Regions from separate parts of the Homo sapiens genome. Here regions 2 and 3 are each linked to region 1. Evidence: promoter capture Hi-C in 16 types of primary human blood cells and fetal thymus (Javierre and others, 2016). All regions are on one chromosome and are shown on one strand. The core of a region is centred on a gene start or on the middle of the fragment in contact, and the rest is flanking DNA. Distances in the headings are between cores, read along the strand shown.

Region 1 (4,431 bases), core at 1,193-3,692:
TGGACAGGTGGGAATCCCCACTGTGTACCCGCCCCCATCCCAGCCCAGCCTAGGAGGCCATACTCGCCGCACCCTACACAAGTCCTTTGCTTCCCTCAGGGACCTCAAGCCTCCCACCCCCACCATCCTGCTGGCCTCCAGATTTTCTGCCTCCTGAAACCTGGGCCCAGGCCCCAGCAATGGTCCTCTCCCCAATCTGCTGGTGGCTCCCACAGGACAGGGAAATTAACAGCACTTGAGTGTGCTCTGAAGGTTGGTACAACCTGGCGGCCCCACACTGCCCATGCCCTCCTAGTGGAGCCAGGTGACTTCTGGGCCTGCAGGGGCTGAGCAGGATGCATCTTCCAGCTCTGGGCCACGAGGAAGTGATGGCACTGTCCTCTCTTGTCTCACCAGCAGATCTCCAGGCCCAGTGAGGCTGAGACTTTGGGGGTGAGGTTGTTGGACACACAGTTCCCAGTGAGTCCTGATGGCACCATGGACCTTACAGGGGCTCAGAGGGGGAAAGCAGCTTGCTTGGGGCTACACAGTCTATGGATGAACAGAGCCAGGGCTGAGGGGACAACAGGAAACTCTGTTCATGGGGGCCCGAGTTCCCATCCTGACCAATCTTGGGCAAGTCATTCACAGTTGAGTTTCCTCTGAAAGGGGGATGGTAGCGGCACCTAACTTAAGACAATGTGACAGTTCAATCAGGGAACTGAATTCTCAATACCTAGGAGGACCCACCACAGTACTCACCACATAGTAGACAGTAAATAAGTCATAGCTTCTTCCAAGACCCCAGAGGTATCCAATCTACCCCATTACCTCCCTGGAAGATGAACAAAGAGAGCAAGGGCCTCAGAGACCCAAGGACTGGAGCCTAGGGAAGACCCAGGACCCTGGTGGGCTTTCTGACTTGCTGCCATGCTTGCACAGAAGGGGAGGGTTGAAATGATCCCTGGTTCCATGCTACTAAGTTGAGCCTACTTGGCTCCTCTGCCCTCTGCAGCCACTTCCTGGGTTTCAGATGTAAATACTGGTGGGAGAGTAGGGGGCTGGGATGTGGGGTAGGGGGTGGAGCTTCTGGACAGGAGACTTTGAACATGAGTGGTCACCTCCGAGGTCACCTGCATCCCCCAATTCCTGGAAGTGGGCAGGCCCTGGATACTTATTGAGGAATCTGGACAGAAAGGTTGAGAGGGCTGGGCGTCCAGACCTAGCTGGTCATTAAGGCAACAAGAACTGGTCTAATTGTGGGCTGGGCTGGATTATCACATCCCAAATCCTTAAATACCCAGAAACTCTCTTTTGGGATTTTGGACCTGGGTATGGGGTGGCTGCTGCCACTGCTGCAATGCTGTGGATTGCTGGGAGTGGGACAGCTGTGGCTGCAGCCACCGTTCTGCAAGCTTAATTCCTACCTTCGGAGGTTTCTCAGGTGGCCCTGGTGTACCTACCTGTGAACTTAGGCCACCCACAGGCTGAGGAGGGGCTCAATCACACAGCAATGTGCTGGGACCATGACTCCCTGGTGTCCCTAGAGGTCTGGAAGTGCTTTCATACCACCCACCCTCTCCAGGGATGCTCAGCTGCCACCTACAGGGAGGGCGGGGGTGGAAGAGCAGCAGTCATCACAGTCCATGTCCATGTGACAGGTAGGAAGACTGAGGCCCCAAAGGAGTGCCTTTTCTTGCACCCAATGGCATAGGGAGGCAGAATTTCCCCTGGGGAAAATAAAATAACGCCCCCACTCCGCCGCCTGCGCCCCCACACACCCCGTCCCCCACGCCCGGGTGGACCTAAGCAGCAGTTTTCTGAGCTTTCAGGAATTCCAGACTGAGTTCACTGGCTGTGAGACTAGCGGAGCCTTGAGAATGAATTCAAAGCTGGCAAATTCATTTTGCCTCCTCTCCCTCGGTGGTGGAAGGAGTGATCTCTCCGGCTCTGAAGGAGTTCAAGCCGAGGTCAGCGAAGCCCTCAGAAGGATGTTCTAAAATGGGGGTGGGGGGTAGTGCTCCGGCCTGCTTCCCCGGTTGGCCCAAGGTCCGCGCTGATCACCGCCCAAGAGGCCCAGGAGACCCGCAAATCTGTGCTGCACGTCCGCACTCCCATGCGGGCCTCGTCAATCAGGAGGCGGCTCCGGCCAGGCCTGGACATCTTCGGCCCGCCCCAGGCCCCGGGGGAGACCCCCGCCTGGGCCGCCTCCGGGTGCCCGCCCCCCGGCGGTGTCATTGTTCTCTGACGTCACGCCTCAGCCCCGCCCCTCTCCCCCCACCCTTCCTCCCCCACCTCCGGCTCCCCGCGCCCCCGACCCTGCAGCCTCCGAAGCCCCGGCCGTGCAAGGCTCCCCCCGCAGCCCGGCCGGGGCTGCGCCCCCTTGCGCTCTCCCCAACTTGCCTTTGTTATTCCAGCTCCCTTCCTCGCCTCGCCTCCGACACGGTGGCAGCCTGCAAAACGTGGAGCGCGGAGTCACTGCCACACCTGGAATCCGAAGCGGGCTCCGCCGGCTCCCGGCCGAAGCCGCCCCCGCCTGCCGGGGAGGGGAGCGCGTGCGTGGGCGGCGCGTGTGTGTCCAAAGAGGGCTGCGCGGGCGCCAATTATGATTGGGACTGGGGGTGCCGAAAATCAGGGGTGGGGGGCCTCGAGGAAGGGGTATGGAAGAGGAAGTGGGAGAGGAGGGCGTGTGTTTGTGTGTGTACGTTAACGTGAGGATTTAGTGCCCAGGGGAACGTTTCGTGTTTTGTTTTTTGATTGTATGTGGGGTTGTGTACAGCGATGTGTGTGTGTAACTGCGTGTCTCTGAGCGTGCCTGCTGTGGCCGTGTAAGCGGGCATCTTTGTGAGGGAAAGTAAGCGAGTGTGTGGGGGCGCGTTTGTGGTTTGGGGGGGAGCGTGTTTGCAATGCTGAGGGAGCGAACGTGTGTGCCGTTCTTGTAGGAGTTTCCGTGAGAGTGGCAGTGGACGTGAGCCAAAGTGGGCGCGTAGTTGGATGCTCTCGGGGGGGGGGGGTGGGTCGGCTAGGGGAACTCCCGCGAGTGGGTGCACCCAACTGCGCCTCGTGAGTACCTTAGCTCTCCGCTATCTCTGGCAGTGCCCAGTCCGGGGCAGAGGGCCAGGCCCCAGCCTAGCAGCTCCCACGCAGCCCGCGCGCACAGCGCCCCGGGCGCTCCGCGCCGGGCCTAGGGGAATCCACGCGTCTCTGGACTGTGCTAGGTGCCGCGGATCAACTGTGGCCACCACACCCCCGCTCCCCCACAGCTGTCGGGGGGCCGCGCTCTAGTCTCCCTCAAAGTCACCCTTGGTGGTGGTGGTCCTCTTCCCACCCCAACCACCAGTCCCCGGGCTGTAGGAACAATTCCAAAGTCAACCCCAGGGGAAGGCTTTGGAGGTCCAGTTACCAACTCGCTTACCCCAATTCGGGTACCTGACAGCGCCCGGGGCCACGAGTGCACTCCAGGCGGGGGCGTGCCAGCGCGGGGCAGGGGCTCTCGGGTGAGCAGTGTGATTTTGGCTTCCTCCCCAAGGTGGTCCCTACCTAGGCTCAGCATTTGTTCCCCTCTCCAAACTTACTGGGGCTGGGGCCTGCAGGGGGGCTGGGGGCTGCAGGGGGCGTCAGGGAGTAGCGGAGGGAGTAGGGCAAGGAGAGAGGTGAGTGGACTGGTGGCGTAGCGGGGAACCAGGAGCCAGGAGAAGAAAAGCTGGGAGAGCGCCGAGACCGAGGAGCGAGGAAGAGAGGAAGAGAAAGGAAAGGAAAGGCGAGGGAGAGAACGAGGAGAGGCGAAAAGGAAAGGGGAAAGAGAGCGCAGAGCGCGAGCCAAGCCGAGCGCCGGCAGCGGCGGCGGCGCGGCGCGGCGCTCCACTCCGGCCTGACTCCGCACCGGCTTTTGCGGGCGGCCGGCGGCGCGGGGCCCTTTGGAAATAGAATAGCCAATGTAATCTGACACTTCAACTTGCTCGGCTCCGGGCGAGTTGATTCACTTACTCACCCCCTAACGCCGAGTTCCTTTTCACTGTCTGTGGACATTAAAAAAGCGAGCGGCGGCGGCGGGCGCCGGGGAGAGCGGGCGGCCGGGCGGCAGGCGGGCGAGCAGCGATCGGGCGGCCGAGCGAGCGAGCAACGCCGGCGCAGCGCGGTGACCCCAGCCCCAGCCGGCGCGGAGCAGGAGCCGGAGCCGAGCGGATCTCGGCGCCCTCGCTGCGCTCCTCCCGGCCCGAGCCTGCCCTACCCGGCGGTGGCGGCGGCGCGTCCTCCAGCGGCGGCAGCGGCGCTCGCAGCGCCCGGTAAGTTTGGGGCCAGAGCCAGGCGCCCGCTGGCTCCGGGGCTACCTCCCGCTCCCCGGGGACTCTCGGGGTGCAAGCGTGGGGATTGGGTGCTGGGGTTTTTCCCTTAAAGTGTCCCCCGGAGCGGGGCGACCGGCCGGCGGCGCGGGCTCCGCTCCGCTCTCCT
Region 2 (4,431 bases), core at 940-3,439, 1.4 Mb after region 1:
CCTTCCTATCAATGTGTCCTCTTAAGTCCAAAATAGCATCTCTCAACTACTCATCTTAGCATGACCACCACTTTGGTTCAAACCACCATCATCTTTGGCCTGGATTGTGGCAAGCCTAATTGGCTCCCTGCTTTTATTTTTGCCTGACACCCACACACAGCCTTAAATCAGAACATGTTAGTCTTCTGCATAAAACCCTTCCAAGGCTCAACAAAGTCTCCATTCTTTGACACAGCCCACAGGCCCTGCATGCTTTGGCCCCCACCCACCTTCTCACTCCATCCTGGGCCTCTTCCCCTAGGCTTAAAACTTCAGCCACACTGATTTTCTTTCAGTTCCCTGACCCATCCAGAACTTACCCTGAAAAGGCACCTACTGCTCTCAGCGAGGAATGTCTCTGCCCAACTTTTCCCAAGGCTAACTCCTTACTCTTTTGACTTCAATTTCAGCATCGCCTCCTCACTTTCCCTGACTGCTTCATCTAAGGTAGCTTTTATTCTCTATTCTAGCCCCTTGTTTTTGTCCCAGCCTTTACTTCAACTTGTGATTATGTATTTGTCTTCTCCACTAAAAATTAACTTTATTGGGCAAAAGGCCTCAGCTGTCTTGTTCACTGAAGTATCCCACCATGCACACAGGGCCTGGCATATTATCAGGCACTCAGACAAACACTCACTATCTGCTGAATGAATGGACAGGTTCCCAGGGAGTTTCCAGAGCTGCCTGGGCTGTCACAGACAGGTTGCATCCCTCTTAATTAAACAAACAAATAAAATTAGCCAGGCACCGTGGCTCATGCGTGTAATTCCAGCACTCTGGGAGGCAGAGGCGGAAGGATTGCTTAAGCCCAGGAATTTAAGACCATCACTGGCAACACAGCAAGATCTCGTCTCTACAAAAAAAAAAAAAAAAAAATTAGCTAGGTGTGGTGGCCTGCACCTGTGGTCCCAGCTACTTGGGGAAGCTGAGGCGGGAGGTCGAGGCTGCAGTGAGCCATGGTCATGCCACTGCACTCCAGCCTGGGTGACAAAGCGATACCTTAGCTCAAAAAACAACCCAAACAAACCTGGGAATGGACTGAACAGTCTCCATTTCAAGATTTCCTCCTTCCATTGGAATTAACCTGTTGGTTGCTTGTACTGGCATGTGGCAACCAGTCTTAGCCCAGTTTTAATAGATCCCTGTTTGGTGTTACTCAACAGAGAAGACCACTCGGCCCTCAGCCACCGAATAAGTTTAAGAAACAGAGGTGTGGCATGCTTCATTCTACAGGTAGGGAGGCTGAGGCTGGGGAGCCGCCCCTGGCTATCCCTGGAAACCCCTCTACCCCACAGGAATCGTCCCAGCCATCTCTTTAGCGTAAAGGTGAGGAACAAATCTCAGCCACGATCCAAAGAGGGGCGCCACCCCTGGCTGTCCCTGGAAACCCCCCTACACCACAAGAATCGTCCCAGCCACCTCTTTAGCGTAAAGGTTAGGAAGAAATCTCAGCCACGATCCAAAGAAAGCTTGGTATTTTTAGCACCAAGGCCAGAAGGAGCGTGTCCTTACTCCTTGGTTTACAAAGAAATAAAAACCTTTTCCCCATCCTTCTTTTGATTGAAGACTACCCCCGCCCCCAGGCTCCAAAGCCGGGCAGGAACGCCTCTTATCTCCACCACAGCCATTTTCCTAATCCTTCGCCCGCTCTCCACGGTCATCCCGTGTATCCCTCGAGACGCCGCCTCCCACAGCTCGTGCTTCTCCCAGGTTCGGCTCCGACAAGGCCAGAGCGGCGTCTGCGCAGCGCAACGGCTCAGAGCGCTCCCGGCGGCTACAAGTGCCCGGCCCCGGGCCAGGCCCGGCCTGCGCCGCGCACCCACTGGGAGGGCGCGGACCGGGGCCGCCCCAAGCCTCCGGCACCGCCCAGAGCGGGACAAAGGGGCGGGCCGGCGACCCGGCCTCGCGGTCCCCGGTGCCGCGCGGGCCGGGAGGCGGGGTGCGGTGGGGGAGGGGCGAGGCGGCTGGGGGAGGGGCGGGGCCAGGGCGGGCCCAGGCGCCCGGGGCCGCACCGGGCGGCGCAGGGAAGCGGCGCCCCTTCCTCGGCAGACGGCAGGCGCCGCGCCTCCGGCCCCGCCCCTCCGCGCCCCTCCGCGCCCCGCCCCCGCCGCTCGGACGGCCCGAGTCGCGCCCTCCCGCCCCGCGCCGCGGAACTTGCTCTAACTTCCTCGGCCGAGCCGGGCCGCGCCGCCGCTGCCGCCGCCGCGCGCGGGTGAGTAGAGCGCGGAGACCTGGCTGGGGCGTCGGGCCCTGCCCCTTTCTTTGTCTGAGGCCGACTTCCCCGAGCGTTCTCCGGGGGCGAGGGCTGCTCCTTAGGTCCCTGTTTGGCCCCTCAGCCTCCCTCCCCGCCTGCCCAGGAGCGGCCCCGCGGGCGGCGCTGGCTTTGTCTGCCAGGATTGCTCGCTAGAGGTTGGAGGCCTCCGCCGGGACCCCGCTGAGCCGAACTCCGGCGCCGCGCGGACGAGAGCCGCGGCGGGCCCGGGGCCGGCACTCCTGGTTCGGTAGCCCTCGCCCCATCAGCGCGCCCCGGCGAGTGCGCGCCCGTGCCGGGCGGGGTGAGGGCGACGGGAGCCTGGACGGCCGCTGCTGCTCGGGGCTCTGCTTCTCGTCCCCAGCAGCGAGCTCGGGGATGGGCCACCCTTTCGGCTCAGTCACCCACCCTCGGCTCCCAGGAGATCGGGTCCGGGGTGGGGGTGGGCGTAGGCCGGGGCGGGCCGCCCCTTCCTCCTGCCCCGCCGTGGTTGTGCTCAGTCTCCCACGCCGCCGTGGGTCCCACTCTGCCCGGCTTGGGTTTGGGACGGCCGGAGTTTGAGTAGGCGGTGACCCAGCTTCTCCGCGTTAGTCGTGTGGGGTTGTGTTTGGGAGCAAAGCCTGACCCCTGACCTAGCCGGAGTTCTGGTAGAGTGAGGTTTGTGGCTGCGGACTGTGCTTGTCCCGGGCCGCTGCTGCTTCTCCTCCACCCCCAGGGGTGGGGTGCGGGTGGGTAGGAAGTGCCTGTGTGAGGGTGTGTGGAGGGACTTTGGCCCTGGGACCGCAGGAGCACTTGTCTTGGGGACTTAAAGTTGATCTCCGGCGAGAAACAGTCCGTGCTAGGGGGAGTCGGGGGAAGTCGTGGGCCCGGGTACTGGCCTGGGGCTGGGCGCAGAGCGGTGGTGAGTGCGGCGGTGTCACACACTCGTTGGCTGTGCTGGCGCTGCTATCCGGGAGGTCAGGCGGTGCTGGGCGGCTGTGCAGAGCATTGTATTGGAGCCTCTGCAGGTGTGCTCTTGGCAGTGGTCTGCTCTCCAGGGGATCTTCCTCCCTTCCGAGAGGGAGTTGCTCTTGGGCTAGTGAGAGAGTGGCCTGCCAAATCCTCAAAAGTAGCCTTCCCCTTGCCCCTTGACCTTGAAGTCCAGAAGCAGTTAGTGCCTGCTGAGTGCTCCGGCCACCCTTCTCTATTTGTGAAGGGAAACCTGGGGACAGGCCATCGGAGCACCCCTATGTCCTTGCCACATTTCAGCTAGCCGAGTGGTTGGTGGGGGCGGCCGTCTTTCCAGGGATCTTCCTGGGCCCTGGCACCCCCAGAATGAAGCCCAGACTCCACCATAATGGCCCTGTATGCCCTTCTATCCCCTTAGCTGCTGGTGTGATCATAGCCTCAAATTGCTGGGCTCAAGTGATCCTCCCACCTCAGCCTCCCAAAGCACAGGGATTACAGGTGTGAGCCACCACGCGCAGTCTGATCCCACTCCGATCCCTAACGTTATAGTGACAGGCCCTGGAAACCCAGGGCCACCAGATGTATTTTCCCTTTCCTTCTCATTGTGTTGCACCCCAACTTCAGTTGGAGACTCTGGATATATCCATCCCCACATCTCTGAACTCCACTGCTTGGGCCACCTAATGTCATCCTCAGTTTAGTTAACAAAGCATGGTTGAGATTTCTGTGGGGTGCGAGGCATTGTTGCAGGCACTATTCCAAGTCTGGAAAGTCCCTCACCAGCTATGAACTTGGTGTGGTCTTAGAACCCAGGCTGGACATGGCATAGGTGCTCAGTAGTGTTTATTGATCTGAGCTTGATCTCAGCGTAGCAGGATCATTTAGGGAGACGGGGTTGTGGGGGGGGTCTGAGCCCATGGGTGCTTCTGAAGGTTTGTGGCTGCCCCAGGAAGAAAGGGCATGGAGCTGCAGAATGGTTGGCTGCCCAGGGAATTGTCCCCTTCACCAGCTGGGCAGCTGTGCTAGTCTCTGAGGACTGGTGAAGGTCCTTCTCATGTAGGAAGTGGCAGTATGAAGTGGGAGAGGAGATGGCTCTGCCCTGAAGGTTGTGGCGGCAGTGAAGTGAAGTTCCCATGGAGGCCGGGGAGCAGGAAAGCCCTGGGTTCTGGAACTATTTCCTGAGGCCTCACTCT
Region 3 (4,431 bases), core at 858-3,357, 1.0 Mb before region 1:
GCCTCTGTCCTGTTTGGATATACGCAAAACTGCCTTTTACCATTTCCATTGCTTTTTATTACTTAATCTCCCAACTTTGTGCCTGGTGTCTTTTTTTTTTTTTTTAAAATAGAAAATTTTTGAGGTAATTATGTATTCATATAAAAGTCTTTGGTGGATATGCTTTTTCCCACAAGCACTTGGTTAGAATGGCCCATTACCTCATTTGTTTATTTTTTGAGACAGGGTCTCTTGTCACCCAGGCTGGAGTACAGTGGCATGATCATGGGTTACTGTACCTCCCGGGCTTGGGTGATTCTCCCACCTCAGCCTCCCTTGTAGCTGCGACTACAGGCATGTGCCACCGTGCCCTGCCAATTTTTTGTAGAGACAGGATTTAGCCGTGTTGCTCAGGCTGCTCTTGAACTCCCGGACTTGAGCAGTCTGCTTGTCTAAGCCTTCCAAAGTGCTGGGATTACAGGTGTGAGCCACTGTGCCCAGCCTGTTACCTCATTTAAAACAAATTTTGCACATCTGAACAGCCTAAAATTGTAATGTGATAAGTGGGGTAGGAGTGGGGTGGGCGTAGTGGGATTTTGAATCAATGAAGGCCCTTGTTCTTGTGGCATCCTTTTGCAGTGATTCCCTGCCAGGCAAGGCAGTAAACCTGGGATTGCCTGCCCAGGACTGTAATCACATTGATGTCCCAGCGCCATGGAGTATGTAATGAATGAACTGCCAGCAGAACTACTCACTAAGAACTACTCCCTGTTTGTGAGGATTGTACCTGTTGAGAGAAGTTGCAAAAAGAATTAGTCAAAAGAATTAGTCAAAATTTGTCCTCTGACCTAGGTCTGAAGGACATTTAACACATTGATTGTTCTCTTCATCCAGCCTTTGAGCCCTATGAGTTAGTGCCCTTAGCCTTTGAGTCCCACAGGTATGGAGGAGCTACCTGTGGGGACCTGAGCCATCACTATTCCTGCTTCAAGTTACACTGGTGCCTCTCACTAGCACTGCTCTGAAAAGCCAGCTGGAAAAATCAATGCATTTGAGTACATAAATTCTTTGGCTCCAAAGAAATGCCATAGCAATATTGCTTTTAATTCAGTTTTGTTTAGATGTTAGAATTGGTATTTGTTCTTGCTTTTTGGTTGCGATGGAGTTATATACTAAGTTACTTATACTAAGGCATTAGTAGTCTCATATCTGAGGAGCAATTGTATTTTTAGTTCAGCTAAATTAATGCCTCTTTTTAAATACTAACTTGTACTACTTTTGTGGCTGTGAATGGTATCTTTTATTGAACTGAGGCAGCTTTTAAAAGACTTGCCTGATCATTTAGAGCACTCCCATTGAGGTTAAATTAGACTTGAATCTGTAATGATTCTCGTAACTGTTCCTGGTGTGTGTCCAGCACAATGTTGCTGGGCAGAGCAGAGGGGCAGAGGCTCAGGTATGTACTTCATTGACAAGTGGGCAAGGCCATCCTGGGTACCACATTGGCTTAATGATCTCTTCATTGTGAAGTCCGGCTACCTCGTTTGCATAAGAACTACAGTAATCAGGCAAGGCATTGTCAGAATTGGGAGGAATAAAATCAGTGAGTCTGGAAGGAGTGCTCTGTATACAATTGCAAAGAACAAAATGGTCATCTTTAAGGTACCTGATTGCATGCACTTAAATGCAGATTATTTTGGAGTTTGAAAAGGGACTATTAATGAAATCTTTCTTTTCCCTCCTTTCTCTTTTTCCCTTCCCCGCCACTGATTCAGTGAGCTGGAGATTGGATCACAGGTATAATTCAAGCTTTTCATGTAGTCATGTAGATCACTAGACTCCTTGGTGTACTGACGTAGCAATTTAAAAGCAGATCATGTGTAGTACATCTAGAAGTAGATTTACAAATATTCTGAAGAGTTGTAACCTTTTAAAATACTAACAGTGACATGGTTTTGTTTTTAAGGTTTAGCAATATTTAGCCCATTATTTTTGTTTTATTCTTAACTTGAATGTTTGTAAATTTTATTTCTTGATGCTTTCATTGTGTTATGATAACATCAAAATAACTTGATATTCTAGGTTACTAATAATTGTTGTGCATGAGTGTTACTACTTTTGGAATTGAAGACTTTAAAGAATTTTAAAGGCAGTTGTTGACTAAACTTCTTTCTCTTGATTCACAGCCGAAGGAGTAAAGGTGCTGCAATGATGTTAGCTGTGGCCACTGTGGATTTTTCGCAAGAACATTAATAAACTAAAAACTTCATGTGTCTGGTTGTTTGAAATGTATTTGCAGTTTCCTGGGACTGCTAGGAGGTTAGTCTGCTGATTTCAGTTGCTGTCCAAGTTCACATGCTCCATGAAGCATTCAGTGAAAACTTAATGTCATGGGGTGGTGTTTGTTTGCTGCTTGGTTTATAGCTTAGGTGGGTTCATCTGGGAGTCAAGCTTGTAAATGCTGTGTTAAGAACCATGTCCGCGGTGGACGCAGTGTAGTGGCTCACAGTCATCAGCACTTTTGGGAGGTTTGGGTGGGATGATTACACTTAAGCCCAGGAGCTCGAGGCTACAGTGAGGTGTTTTTTTTTTCGAGACAGGGTCTAGCTTTGTTACCTAGGCTGGTCTTGATTGAACTCGGGCTCAAGCGATCCTCCTACCTTGGCCACATAAAGTACTGGCATGAGCGACCACGTCTGGCTTAGAGTCTAAAAAGTACCATGTCTGGATAAACTGGAGAAATCTCAGGAAGCAGTAGAGAGCTGAAAGACTTGGTTGGGCATGAAGGGGACTCAGGAAAAGCAATACCGTGAAGGCAGAAGGGTTGAGGTTGCAGGAAGGAAGGGTAGTGGAATGTTTTGGAGAAAAGATGGTCACAGCCCCTGCATGGAGCACCTACAGACAGGAGGGCAGGGCTGAGAAGAGTTAAGTCATGGGGCTGGGCCTGCTGGCCAGGGGGTGGTTGGAGTTCTGTTTTCATATCTACAGAGGCTGTGTACTTCGGTTTGTGGGGCCTCTGGCCCTGTAGGTTCTCTTGCTAAGGAATCTGCTACTACTTTGCTAGGACCAGGAAATGGCTTACTAGTACAGAACGTGTGGAAGAATGGGGTCTTTGATGTGATTTGACATTTTTTGATGAACAGTGCATACCAGGCTGAAGGTAATGCTAGGGGCAGCAAAGGTTGGGGTTTGAGATGCAGTTTCCTGTGACTGAGCTGGAGTGTGGAAGCAGAGAAGGCACCCTGTGAGCAGCTTGCAGAGGCAAGGTGGTGAGGATCCTGACAGTGCTGCAGGGATGGGATGGGATGGGATGGGACAGGACGTGGAGCTGGGGGTGGTTGCTAAGTTGATGCAGGGAGAGTGGAAGGAAGCAATTGAGAACTGAAGGGTAGGAAATAGTTTCTGATGTGAAGAAAAAGGGCATAGCTGCAGAGAGCCTGAATGATTGAAGGTTGGCATCAAAGTCACGAAGTGGGGAGGCTTTTCTGTTCAGCTGTGCTCAGGGCAGAAGTTGTAGTCTTTCAGCCAGTAGCCTTGGGAAGGGAGGTGGGATGAAACTCAGGCTTGGCCTATTTTTCCAGAGGATCCACTTGGGTTGTGATATTATAGAAAATGTGGCAGTCTTGCTGTGAGCCTTGTTAGGCATAACATTTGGAAACTTGGCAAATTTTACGTAAAGGTCTGGATTTCCAGCCTCTTGAAATACCAGAAGCAGCAGTAGTAGCCCACCTTCCTGTTTGATAACAATTGGCAGGGCTCCAGGCTGGCTGCATCTGTTGGGACAGGTATTCTCTGGTCTCCACAGCCTTTGCTCCTACGGCCAGCTAACACCCTCCTCTACCTGCCCTCTGGTCTTCTGTCCCTGCTGCCTGCTTCTCTTCCATCTAGTCCATCCAAGTGTTTTTTGGGGAAGTCACCTGGTACCTTGTTAGGGTTAATTTGTCTTTTAAATTGGGCTCCCAAGGGTATCTGCTAGCTACCCTGGCTCACAAGGCTATTTTGAGGCTGAGGATGTAACAACTGTGAAAACAGTTTGGAAACTAGTGCTAAGCAATTGTTTGTCAGGAAGCAGGGACTTGTGGGAACTCAAACTGTGGACAGATTCAGCACATTGTAGGCCCTCACAGTAACCAGGCTACCCTGTGCTGTCAGCAGGCTTTGGAAGAGCCTCCATAAAATGCAAACTTGACTTTACTAAGCTGAATCAATATTGAGGGAGCACATCCCTTCCTTCAGCTTGTCACTGATGGGAAGCTGTGGCTTAGAGAGAGCAGGGATCTTTGAAGAGTGATGAGAAACTCAGCTAGAGGTGGTTCTGGGAAGGTACCTGCAGTGAATATTTGGGGTGCTGCTTTTTAGCTTTTCCTAGCACCACAACCATGAGTTCTGTTTGTAGCTGGATGTGCCTATGTAATCAGGCAGCTTTCAACTCTGCACTCTTCCTTTCTTCCC

What was found. The method cuts DNA at HindIII sites, captures the fragments that hold promoters and counts their contacts. A CHiCAGO score of 5 or more calls a contact.
Region 2: the fragment with the promoter of TSPAN14 here is called in contact with the fragment with the promoter of ZMIZ1-AS1 in region 1 in 1 of 17 cell types (non-activated CD4 T cells); the score reaches 5.5 in non-activated CD4 T cells.
Region 3: a contact is called between a fragment that was not itself captured here and the fragment with the promoter of ZMIZ1-AS1 in region 1, in 3 of 17 cell types (total CD4 T cells, naive CD8 T cells and total B cells). The highest score is 7.8, in total CD4 T cells.

The regions. Positions count from the first base shown.
Region 1 is chr10:79,065,006-79,069,436 of GRCh38, forward strand. It overlaps ZMIZ1-AS1 (ZMIZ1 antisense RNA 1), which reads right to left and starts at 2,443. Exons shown (of 10, transcript NR_024431.2): 1 at 2,383-2,443; 2 at 1,443-1,581; 3 at 742-814. It overlaps ZMIZ1 (zinc finger MIZ-type containing 1), which reads left to right and starts at 3,961. Exons shown (of 25, transcript NM_020338.4): 1 at 3,961-4,265. RefSeq lists silencers at 2,002-2,211, 2,252-2,301, 2,402-2,611, 3,412-3,481, 3,742-4,431, an enhancer at 2,875-3,720 and a cis regulatory region at 3,594-4,279. The HindIII fragment of the contact is 3,772 bases long and covers 1,393-4,431 here.
Region 2 is chr10:80,452,121-80,456,551 of GRCh38, forward strand. TSPAN14 (tetraspanin 14) reads left to right here and starts at 2,190. Exons shown (of 9, transcript NM_030927.4): 1 at 2,190-2,251. RefSeq lists enhancers at 1,546-1,755, 2,499-3,016, 2,966-3,225, 3,256-3,305 and a silencer at 1,786-2,835. The HindIII fragment of the contact is 5,289 bases long and covers 1,507-4,431 here.
Region 3 is chr10:78,038,450-78,042,880 of GRCh38, forward strand. RPS24 (ribosomal protein S24) reads left to right here. Exons shown (of 6, transcript NM_033022.4): 5 at 1,755-1,776; 6 at 2,166-2,248. The coding sequence ends at 1,757. Among named protein-coding and RNA genes, the nearest start is that of RPS24, 6.8 kb to the left of the region's middle. RefSeq lists enhancers at 940-1,451, 1,452-1,961, 2,282-2,783, 2,852-2,901, 4,182-4,291. The HindIII fragment of the contact is 642 bases long and covers 1,787-2,428 here.